4 separate regions of the Homo sapiens genome follow, and regions 2, 3 and 4 are each linked to region 1. The links are contacts of gene promoters, found by promoter capture Hi-C in human tissues and cell types (Jung and others, 2019). All regions are on one chromosome and are shown on one strand. Each heading gives the region's core, a stretch centred on a gene start or on the middle of the fragment in contact. The rest is flanking DNA. Distances are from core to core; before and after follow the strand shown.

The links. The method cuts DNA at HindIII sites, captures the fragments that hold promoters and counts their contacts. A contact is called where the count stands out against the background at its distance.
Region 2: a contact is called between a fragment that was not itself captured here and the fragment with the promoter of MRPL40 in region 1, in 1 of the 25 tissues and cell types used here (H1 embryonic stem cells).
Region 3: a contact is called between a fragment that was not itself captured here and the fragment with the promoter of MRPL40 in region 1, in 1 of the 25 tissues and cell types used here (dorsolateral prefrontal cortex).
Region 4: a contact is called between a fragment that was not itself captured here and the fragment with the promoter of MRPL40 in region 1, in 1 of the 25 tissues and cell types used here (aorta).

Annotation. Positions count from the first base shown.
Region 1 is chr22:19,431,123-19,433,915 of GRCh38, reverse strand. MRPL40 (mitochondrial ribosomal protein L40) reads right to left here and starts at 1,371. Exons shown (of 4, transcript NM_003776.4): 1 at 1,309-1,371; 2 at 568-651. The coding sequence starts at 1,361. HIRA (histone cell cycle regulator) reads left to right here and starts at 2,183. Exons shown (of 25, transcript NM_003325.4): 1 at 2,183-2,476. The coding sequence starts at 2,440. RefSeq lists silencers at 1,297-1,606, 1,897-2,296 and an enhancer at 2,581-2,793. The HindIII fragment of the contact is 11,001 bases long and covers 1-2,793 here.
Region 2 is chr22:19,214,290-19,217,190 of GRCh38, reverse strand. It overlaps CLTCL1 (clathrin heavy chain like 1), which reads left to right. Exons shown (of 33, transcript NM_007098.4): 19 at 935-1,080. Among named protein-coding and RNA genes, the nearest start is that of SLC25A1, 37 kb to the right of the region's middle. The HindIII fragment of the contact is 5,984 bases long and covers 1-2,901 here.
Region 3 is chr22:19,192,792-19,195,623 of GRCh38, reverse strand. The region is part of intron 26 of CLTCL1 (clathrin heavy chain like 1); the gene reads left to right. Among named protein-coding and RNA genes, the nearest start is that of SLC25A1, 15 kb to the right of the region's middle. The HindIII fragment of the contact is 7,428 bases long and covers 1-2,832 here.
Region 4 is chr22:19,251,260-19,254,183 of GRCh38, reverse strand. CLTCL1 (clathrin heavy chain like 1) reads left to right here. Exons shown (of 33, transcript NM_007098.4): 3 at 1-225. It also overlaps the pseudogene DVL1P1. Among named protein-coding and RNA genes, the nearest start is that of CLTCL1, 39 kb to the left of the region's middle. The HindIII fragment of the contact is 5,735 bases long and covers 1-2,924 here.

The sequences.
Region 1 (2,793 bases), core at 122-2,621:
TAGTGGGCGCCTGTAATCCCAGCTACTTGGGAGGCTGAGGCAGGAGAATTAGTTTAACCCAGGAGGCGAAGGTTGCAGTGATCCGAGGTCACACCACTGCACTCCAGCCTGGGTGACACAGTGAGACTCCATCTCAAAAAAAAAAGAAAAATCAAATCCTTTACTATCAAGATTGACTGAATCAAGTATCTACAAAGAGTCGAGAGTGCCAGATGGAAATACCTTTAATACTTGCATCTTCCCCACACTCTCCAGGGCCTCCGAATGGGCAGGGAAGAGGAAGGGTCATGGAGAAACAGAAACTTAAGCTGTGTCCTTTAAAACACACAAGAATCCCTTCAAGGAGAATACTTACTTCTTGAGAAACTGCTCAAATTTTAAAAATTACAAACAACAATCTATGGTTTGGAAAATGTTGGAAAAACAGAAAAGCATCGGCCTAAATTTAACTGAGAAACTTTGTAGGCTGTTAATTTTGCAAACCACACATCCAGCATTCTTGCTTTGTTCTCTACACATAGACTGACACCTTTACCCCCAGAGGTCAGGCCCTCGATTGAGTTTTACCTCATGGGAATGAGTTCCCAGAAAGACAACAATGACGCTCGCTGGTGAGTCTCTCTAAGCTGCGTCTGCCAAGTTCCCAGAAGCCTGAAAGATACAAGAGTATGTATAAATATCTGCTTCTCCAGGCTAGGCGCGGTTGCTCACGTCTGTAATCCCAGCACTTTGGGAGGCCGAGGCGGGTGGATCGCGAGGTCAGGAGTTCAAGACCAGCCTGGCCAACATGGTGAAACCCCGTCTCTACTAAAAATACAAAAATTAGCCGGGCGTGGTGTTGGGCGCCTGTAATCCGAGCTACTCGGGAGGCCGGGGCAGAACTGCTTGAACCCGGGAGGCAGAGGTTGCAGTGAGCCGAAATCGCGCCACTGCACTCCAGCCTGGGCGACAGAGCGAGACTCTGTCTCAAATAAATAAATAAATATCTGATTCTCTCCCACTTCACAGGAAAATAAAAAATTGCAATGCTCCCAAACCCGGGGCACTTCTAACTACTTGATATGACAGCAAGGTCAACGTGGAAGGTTTTTCAAAATCTTTCGTTCAGACCACAGAGGACTTAAGCAGGACCGCTGCTCGCCAGGGTGCTCAGATTTTCATGCATAAGAGTCACGACCAGATGGCTCATCCCTGAGATATTCGTGGACTGGGAGGCGAGCAGGGAGCACAGGCGAGTCCTGGCGGACAGTCGCGAAGACCCCGCACGCGCCCTGGGCACTCCGCTATCCGGCCAGCGTCCGCACTCACCCGCTAGTCGGGCGCAGGGCTAGCGAGATACTTCGCAGCACGGAGGCCGTCATGGCTACCCTCGCCGCTTCCGGGCGTGCGCCCCTCCACAGTCCGGCCCGCGGTGCCCCCTGCTGAGGTCCGGCAGACCAGGCGCCCAGCGCTCAGGCGTTCCGGCTGCGTGGGCTGGGACGCGCCTGTCCCCGCCCCCGACGCAGCCCCGCCTAGGGTGTCAGCTGCGCACACACGAGGGCCTTGCGTTTCACGCGGCTCGGGGTCCTCCCTTCCGTCCCCGCCCTGTGCTGGGAGCGCGCCTCTGCAGCGGGCACAGTCTAGCCAGTCAGGCCCTAGCCGGTTGGTCGGTCTGCGCCCTCGCGCGGGCCTCGGCTCCGCAGTGCAGCCGGAGCGGCCGAGGGGGCGTCCCTCTGCTCCTCCGAGTCCAAATGTTCATGTCTAGGCAAACGGCCCCGATCTTCTAATAAACGCGTCCGCCCCAGCCTCCCCCACCAGGGTTGGCTCGTCCCCCGCATTCGTTCGAGTCCGAAGCCCGGATCGCATTCCGGCGCCGGCGCGGAGCCCGGCGCTCGCAAGATGCCCAATAGCGCGTGTTGATGAATGACGGAAGCTAGTTAATAAGTCGGACTCAGACTGGCGAGGCAGAGCTGGTGACGGGCGGTCCACGCCACCTGGGCCCCGCCTGCCTCTGCGGGCGGCCCGGGTTGCAACTGCAGGCCCCGCTCGCTGTCCGCCGTCCAGGCGAACCGCCCTTTCTGGGGCGCCCGCGCCCGGGCCCGACCCGAAGCCCCTGCCAGCGGAGGAGCCGGGGCGGCCCAGTCCGCGTGGGGAGCGGTTTCCCGCCGGGGCGATTTGGCAGGTGCGCGCCGTGACTTCCGGCGTTGCCCGGGAGCCGCCTGAGGAGGAGCGGCGCAGGGGATGCGGCTGTGGTGGCGGCGGCGGCGGCCGAGCGCGGGTGGCGGCTGTGGCGGCGGAGGGGGGCGCGGGCCGGCGATGGCGCGGCGGCCCTGAGGGCGCGGGGCGGGCGGCGGCCGGAGGGCGGGTGGCGCGGGAGGAAGCGGCGGCGGTGGCTCCATGGCCCGGGCGCGCTGAGGGACCCGGCGCTCGCCTCAGCCCGGCGGCGGCGGCGGCCGAACAATGAAGCTCCTGAAGCCGACCTGGGTCAACCACAATGGTGAGTGCGCGCAGGGGTCGCGGGAGGCCGAGCCCGGAGTCGGGTCGGGGTCTGGAGTCGAGTCGGGGCGCGCGCAAGTCCTGCCTGTCTCGCCCCTGACGCCCGGTACCCGGTGCCCAAGCCAAGAAGCCGGCGGGAGCGGACTTTGTCCTCAGCGCGGAGAGGCTGGTGAGCCCCAGCACGTGCTCCGGGTTGACCGCAGCGAGGGCCATCTTCGCCCCTGGCTCTTGCTCTGAGTCTTCCGCTGCCCACCTGTGGTCCTTGGAGGGGCCGCGGCCTGGCTCCCAGGAGCGGGCCTTGGTGCCAGCCAGTGCCTT
Region 2 (2,901 bases), core at 386-2,885, 220 kb after region 1:
AAACTCTTCAGCCTCCTTGTTGTAGTTACTACAAATTCCACAGAGGTAGAACTTTTGCATCTTATGGTACCATTGAGTTCACAAAGACTAGCAGAAAGGTGGACTGGACTGACCTTGACCCTAGGTTCCTTTAAGGCCCCTCAAGATTGCTAGGTGAAAGTTCATGGTCAGAGGGCTGTGTTAGCCATGAAAGACCGTCCAGAGCTGTCTCTTCCCTCTCATTGATACACGGCTGTTGCCCACCCCTGAGGAGAACCAGAAACTTGGCAAAAATATTAGATTCTGGAAGTCACTGAAGGTGCCTGGTCCAAAGTGCAAAGAGAACAGTGCTGGCGTTCCAAACTGCTGTTGCATGGGAAATGTACTCTTTGGAAAACTGTCTTTCCACCCTATTTGTAAGTGTTTTTGTATGTGAGACACCTATAATTGGAGGAGGGGTGGCACAGCCAGTCTTTTGTTGGTCTTTCCTTCAGATTGTGGTTCTGAGTGTCATCCGGTGTGAAGGCACGTGGCTCCACAGCTCTGGCTGTGGACTGTGCCACAGCAGTGGCAGTGCTCTCTTCTAGTAAGAGGCTGCTGGAAGCCCCTGCGGTGTCTTCATTAGAGAAGTGGAGCCATATTTGCTATTAGTGGCTTTAAGAGACAAATCTAAAAGGAGACATTCATTTCAAAATGCCTGGTGCACTGGTCATTGGAGCTGAGTAAGAGTCTGTAGCATATTTGATATGAGAGAAAAACTAATTGTCAAAACAGAGCAAACAGAATTTCCTGAAATTAACTTTGAAAACCCTTCCTTTGTTACATTAAGAAGTCTCCCATTTTCTCTGTGTCTATTCCAGACCATCTTGGAGGAGTCCTTCCCTTCTGTTTAGCTTCAAAGATACAGTCTTGAATTGACTTTAATCAAGTTCTTTCAAATGCTTTTTAAAACCAGGTGGTACAGACAGCATTGTCAGAAACACGGGATCCTGAAGAGATTTCGGTCACTGTCAAAGCCTTTATGACAGCCGACCTGCCTAATGAACTGATTGAACTGCTGGAGAAGATAGTTCTGGATAACTCTGTCTTCAGCGAGCACAGGTGAGGCTATGCCAGGGGTAGCTGTGGACACAGGCAGATTCAAAACATCTGCTTGATACTCATCTTCTGTTACAATCTCGTACCGCTTCACCCATCCAGCCTGCCCATTGGCTGCTCCCCAGACATGCCAATCTTCTTACCACCTCCTCTACCTCAATCTAGCCCTTCCCTTATTAGCTCCTGCCTGTCTCAGAGCCCAGCCTCAGTTTCACATTTTCTAGGAGCCTGCGCTCCTCTTACTGCTCTGGCCCACACTGTCCTTTAACACAATGCTCAGAGAAAGGGAGCTGGCATTTTATGAAGGTCTCATGTGGCCTAAGGATGTGTTGAACTCTTCAAATCATGGTGAACAAAGCTTGGAGAAAGGTGGCAGGAGAACCAGATCTGGGCATGTATCAGGGAAGACTTGCCCGAAGTATAATGTAGAAGCCAGATGAGCAGGAGCTGTGGCAGGGGCAGCAGCACAGGCCCGGCACTATAGAGGTGCGAGTGCGTGCTTCCGATGGACCGGCACTATAGAGGTGAGAGTGCACGCTTCCACACGGACCGGCAGTATAGAGGTGGGAGTGTGTGTTTCGGCATGGACCAGCACTATAGAGGTGGGAGCGCGTGCTTCTTTTGCATGGGCAGGCACCATAGAGGTAAGAGTGCGTGCTTCCGCATGGGCCAGCCACCTGGGGTTCCTCTCCACTTCAAAATTCACCATCAGAGATTCTGTGTCAGATTTTAATCAACTCACATCATAAGTGCAGCTGTAAAGATTTAGTTATGAGATTTATTTTGTAGGCCAGAAAGGCTATCAAGGGCTGTAGTATTATAGAGAGGAATTTGTGTGTGTGTTTTTAAACTTGGAGATGCTATATGGTAATGGCATATGGAATGTGAAATTATATTTAATGGAATCATAAACCCTGACTAATGACAGGATGCCAGGATTAAGGTGCCTGAGGTGGCTACGATATTCTGTCTTGCTGTCTGATCAACCTCCTTTGATAGTTGTTAGTTTGTGTGTACTTCCAGGCACTTACAGGTGGCTGTAGCTCTGCTGTCTTCTTAAACACTTGCTTCTCAAACATGCAGGTAACCTCAAGTTCGTGCTCTTCTTTCATTGATGATTTCACCAGACAGTTTTATGCGTAGGTAAAAATAGCCTTGGCTGGGCGTAGTGGCTCACGCCTGTAATCCCAGCACTTTGGGAGGCCAGGAGTTTGAGACCAGCCTAGCCAGCATGGGTGAAACCCTGTCTCTACTAAAAATAAAAATTCAGCCAGGCATGATGGCAGGTGCCTGTAATCCCAGCTACTCGGGAGGCTGAGGCGGGAGAATCGCTTGAGTCTGGGAGGTGGAGGTTGCAGTGAGCCGAGATGGCACCACTATACTCTAGCCTGGGTGACAGAGCGAGACTCCATCTCAAAAAAAAAAAAAAAAGCAAAATATATTATTTTTAGAGTATATACTTGGAAGAATATACTTATGACCTAATAAATTCTTAAGCCAGTCACAGAAACCAGAAACCATAAATAAACCTTTAGTGAAAAACCAATAAGACTGTATTAAACTTAAGCACTTTATCGTAAAGAAGATGGACAAATGAGAAGCTACAAATGCGGGGAAGATATTTGCAACACAACCAACAAAAAATTAGTAGGGAAAAGTTGTAATAAAAGACAAACACAAGCAACCCAATGAGAAACCAAGCAGAGAGCTTGAGCACACCCTCCGGTGAGAGGAAGGGCAGCTTGTGAATTCAGCCTCATCAGCCACCAAGGAGGCACAGAGTGAGGCCACAGTGCATCATCCGATGCTTTGTTACTCCTGCCA
Region 3 (2,832 bases), core at 185-2,684, 240 kb after region 1:
GGGGCTGGAATTCTTTATCCTCAGCCCCCATCCCTTTGCATTGGGTATCTGCGCTTTGTGCCATGGTCTTTGGGTAACTAACTTGTCACAGTCGGCTTGTGACTGGAGTGGCACAGCAGTGAGCTGTGGCCTCGCTCATGCACCTCTTTTCCACATGCGGCTACTGAGGGTGGGCGCGAGTGGCACGTGTGCTGCCAGGTGAGGCCTTCAGCCTCTGCCTTTCCTGGGAACTATTTGAAGGAACCCAGTATTGAGCACCAGGCCACAAGCCCGAGCTTCTTGTTGGAGGACATCCATGTTACTGGGCATGGTGGTACGTGAAAGTGGGGGCCTTTGATGGGGCGTCCCACCCTGAGCAGAGTCTGCAGGTTGCTGGAGGGAGTGCGGCCAGGTCATACCTTACTGTGGCCTGGCACACGTGGCTGCTGCCTTGTAGATTTGTCTGTGTGCTGGAAAATCCATACTTGATCAATCCTGTGTGTATTTTATTCACATTGTAACTCCTCTGATATTAGGGTGTTTTTAAAAATTGCTGAGCCGTGGTGGAAGTGGCCATGCTTTTGTTTCTTACTGGCATATAAAATAATAGCAGGACAGCTGAGACTCACTGTGTGGGAGAGCAGCATCTCTCATCTGGTGCCTGCAGGGCTGATGGCTGAGTCCAGTTCCTTGTGTGATTCATGATGCTTCTACTACACCCTGCCGTGTGGGAGACAGACACTGTCAGCTCAGGTGTGAAGGGGGTAGGAGGATACTCGCCAGTGCAGGGGTCCAATCAGATGGACGACATCCAATCTGTATTTGGGGCACACGATAGCAGGAATCCACTTAGCCATAGGGCTGGGCCAGCAGCAGCCTGAGCAGGGGAGCTTGCTAACTCACACGGGGGGCACCCCAGCTCAGCCATTCACTGTCTCTCTCCATGTGGGCTAGGGGTGTCACCGCTGTGAACCTCGTTATCCCATCCATACAATGGACATCATGTTTCCTCCCGACCAAGTGGTCCATGGCAGGTGCCTGGCATCCGGTGGGCGCTTCTTTCAGGTTGTGCAGCACAGCACGCCAACCAGCTATCCTGGAGCTTGTGGCGGAATCTCAGCTTCAGTTTTCTCTTCTTTTTTTGTTTTATTATTATTTTTCTTGAAACGGAGTCTCACTCTGTCACTCAGGCTGGAGTGCAGTGGCGCGATCTTGGCTCACTGCAACCTCCGCCTCCCAGCCTCGAGCGATTCTCCTGCCTCAGCCTCCAGAGTAGCTGGGATTACAGGTGCCTGCCACCACGCCCGGCTCATTTTTGTATTTTTAATAGATACAGGGTTTTACCATGTTGGGCAGGCTGTTCTCAAACTCCTGACCTCAGGTGATCTTGAGAGGTGACGCCACCTGGACTTCTTGGGTCGGGTGGGGACTTGGAGAAATTTTGTGTCCAGCTAAAGGATTGTAAGTACACCAATCAGCACTCTGCATCTAGCTAAAGGATTGTAAATGCACCAATCAGCACTCTGTAAAAAACGTACCAATCAGCACTCTGTAAAATGGGCCAATCAGCACTCTGTAGAATGGACCAATTAGCGCTCTGTAAAATGGGCCAATCAGCAGGATGTGGGTGGGGCCAAATAAGGGAATAAAAGCTGGCCATGCGAGCCAGCAGTGCAACCTGTTCGGGTCTTTTTCCATGTTGTGGGAGCTTTGTTCTTTTGCTTTTCACAATCAGTCTTGCTGCTGCTCACTCATTGAGTCTGCACTAGGTTTAAAAGCTGTAACACTCACTGCGAAGGTCTGGAGCTTCATTTGTGAAGTCAGCCAGATCACGAACCCACCAGAAGGAAGAAACTCACACCTCTCAACATCTGAAGGAACAAACTCTGGACACAACATCTTTAAGAGCTGTAACACTCACCATGAGGGTCTGTGGCTTCATTCTTGAAGTCAGTGAGACCAAGAACCCACCGGAAGGAATAAATTACAGACACAATCCGCCTGCCTTGGCCTCCCAAAGTGCTGGGATTACAGGCGTGAGCCACCACGCCCAGCCTTCAGTTTTCCCTTGTATAAAACAGGGATACTACCATGTCTTCTGGGGTGCTGGCTGTCCTTGCTGACCATGCTAGTGGGCACGGGCCTGCCAGTGCTCCATGTCCTGGCGCGTGGCTAGTGGACTCACCCCATCCTGTCTTTCAGCTTGGATCTGGAGGACGCTCCAGAGGGGCCCCGCCGCTCCATTCCTCCTGTAGTGCAGAGGGCTCCAGATCCCAGCAGCTGAGCCCAACAGAGATGTGTGTCCCTGCAGGCCTCAACACCAGAGGAACTGGGTGGGAACATGGCAGTTATACTCCACCTTAAACGGCATTCCGGCCATGCTGCATGGACCTGTTGAAAGGGCCAAGAGTGCACATGGTACCAGGTGTCCCACAAGGGAAGCTAGGACTGCTGGTGCCCCACTTCAAGTCTGTCCACTCGCGTGATACCTGCAAGAGTCTCTGAAATGGGCTTGTCCTTGGATGGTTCCTCTCCTTCACGGGAGGCCTGAGGAGCCTTGTGGTTGGTGGGGAAGCAGGTGGGGCTTTGAGGAGGTGATTCGCCACAGAAGATGAACTTGAGTCCCTACCCTTCTCTTCAGCCCCACATCACATCCTGACTGCTCTCTGCTTCTTCAGTGTCTAGTTGAGGCCCCCATGTCCTGGCCCTGCTGCTGAGTAAAGGGCCAGCCTAGAAGGCTGACAGGTGCTAGAGCTCCAATAGGAGTGGACCCACAGTGGCCTGTGGCAGAGTCTGGGGGCCCACCAGTGCCATAGGTGAAGCTTTGTGATGCGGCCAGTTCACCGTTTTGCT
Region 4 (2,924 bases), core at 403-2,902, 180 kb after region 1:
ATGAAGGCTCATACTATGGCAGAAGAAGTGATTTTCTGGAAATGGGTTTCTGTGAACACTGTTGCCTTGGTGACCGAGACCGCGGTCTACCACTGGAGCATGGAAGGTGACTCCCAGCCCATGAAGATGTTTGATAGACATACCAGTCTGGTGGGCTGCCAGGTGATTCACTACCGGACTGATGAGTACCAGAAGTGGCTGCTGCTCGTAGGCATCTCGGCTCAGGTAAGCCTTGAGCTGCCTTTAGGGGCTGGTCTGATGTAACTTCAAAGCCCAATATTAGAATGGAGTGGTTAAATCATTAGAAGTTGGTTATAGGGCCAGGTGCGGTGGCTCATGCCTGTAATCCCAGCACTTTGGGAGGCCGAGGCGGGAGGATCTCTTGAGGTCAGGGGTTTGAGGTTGCAGTGAGCCAAGATTGCGCCACTGCACTCCAGCCTGGGCAACAGAGCAAGACCCTGTCTCAAAAAAAAAAAAAGTTGGTTATAGGTATAAGGCAAAAGTAGGCCTGGAACTGAGAGAAATAGAGATTACAAAGAAATCTGAACTTGGATCAAATAATCTTAATTTACCTTTGGCCTATTAACTACTACTGCATTCCTTCAGGTTACTGATGTTCATTGTATAAACTATTTCTAGCACTGTTTTGAGAGGTTGTTGAGGAATTTTATAGAGTAATTTGGAACCCATAGTTTTATAAGAAGTAGTCCTTCGGGAAGACGAGAGAGGGCTAGACATCCTGCCCACTGCGTCCCAGCCAGGGCAGGGAGGGACCGTGGCCCATGGGGTCAAAGGGCCCCGATGTGCACAGCTGCCGCAGGGAGGGAGGTCTTGGGGAAATGGGCGGTCAGCTGGCCTGTCCTTGGTAATTGCACACACTGCCCGCACACACCACGGCCCACACACAACGCGGCCTTCCTGGCATCTCTGGCCCCCGTGTGTCTGCACTGTAGGTATTGTATCAAAGTCCCAGCATCTAGATGGTTAACATAGAGCTGCTTCTGTGTAAATGCTGCTTATTTGAAACACTAAAAAGCATTTAATTTTATGGGAAAAAAAAGAAGTAGTTCTTAGACTGTATTTTAAGGACTTACTGGAATGTTACTAACTCATATTCTATTATACTGAAAGCAGTATCTTTTTGTCCTCCCTTTTTTTTTTTTTTTTTTTGAGACGGAGTCTTACTCTGTCACCCAAGCTGGAGTGCAGTGGCGCGATCTCGGCTCACTGCAAGCTCTGCCTCCTGGGTTCATGCCATTCTCCTGCCTCAGCCTCCCCAGTAGCTGGGACTACAGGCGCCCACCACCATGCCTGGCTAATTTTTTGTATTTTTAGTAGAGATGGGGTTTCTCCGTGTTAGCCAGGATGGCCTTGATCTCCTGACCTCGTGATCCGCCCGCCTTGGCCTCCCAAAGTGCTGGGATTACAGGCGTGAGCCACCGCGCCCGTCCCCTTTTTTCATTCCTGGTGGCTAATTCAGTCACCAGATACTTGAGGACTACAGGATGTTTGCACTTGGGACATAGATCTTCGTCATTCAATCCTGATGACCAGTGAATGATTTGTCTATAGCCTAGTGGGGAAGGTGTATCTGCACAATTCTAGTAATTAAGGAACTGTCACATGTTTGAAGAGAATACTGTGGGAGCCATGAGAGAGCAGCTTAAGTCAAGACAGCCTGCAACACAGGGGATCTAAGATGCATTTTGCTAGCTATTAAAGTGCACTTTGGAAGGACACAGTGTATGCAAAGGCACAGAATGGAGGAGAATGGCTCTTTCTGGGAGTCTGGGGTCACCCACCGTGGATGATACCTATAGGTAAGCATATTAGGTAGCTAGAGGGGCAAGACTTAGAGAGATGATTGGGGGCCAGACTGCAGGCAATGGGAATTATGTAGCAGGTTTTGAGTGAGAGTGATGTAATTAATTTTCCTTCTTAGCAGCATAGTGGAATTGAAAAAATGCTATCATTGATGTTGAAGATGGACCACCATGAAGACTGGAGGCCAGGAGACTAGTTGAAAGGCAGATACAGGAACAAAACCATGTAGTCTGTTCTGGAATAGAGACATGTATGAGAAAGGTTAAGAATACGCAAACAGGGAAGGAGTACTTCCATTTCTGGAACGCTCTGTTCCATTTCTGCAACCCCCAGAAGATATGAAGCATGTGTGACTAGATGAAGGCAGTGGCATTGCAGATATACAGGGGAGACAAGACCTAAGACTTTGGCTTACTCACCCTGATAAAGGGCATCTACAACAAATACAACTAACATCTTACTTCATGTTGAAAAACTGAAAGCTTTCCCCCAAGGATCAGAAACAAGACAAGGATGTCTTCTCTTGCTACTTCTGTTCAGCTTTGGACTAGAGATTCTAGCCAGGGCAATTAGGTGAGAAAAACATAAAAGGCATCTAGATTTAGGCTGGGCACGGTGGCTCACGCCTGTAATCCCAGCACTTTGGGAGGCCAAGGCGGGCGGATCACGAGGTCAGGAGATTGAGACCATCCTGGCTAACACGGTGAAACCCCGTCTCTACTAAAAATACAAAAAATTAGCCGGGCACGGTGGCGGGCGCCTGTAGTCCCAGCTACTCGGGAGGCTGAGGCAGGAGAATGGCATGAACCCGGGAGGCGGAGCTTGCAGTGACCGAGATAGCACCACCACAGTCCGGCCTGGGCAAAAGAGCGAGACTCCGTCTCAGAAACAAAACAAAACAAAAAGGCATCTAGATTTAAATGGAAGAATTAAAGCTGTCTCTATTTGCAGATGACATAAGCTTGTATATGGAAATCCTAAGGAATCTAGTAAAAAACTATTAGAACTAATAAACAAATTGAACAAGGTTACAGAATACAATATCAGTTTGCAAACATCAATTGTGTTCCTAAACATTTGCAACGAACAATCCAAAAATG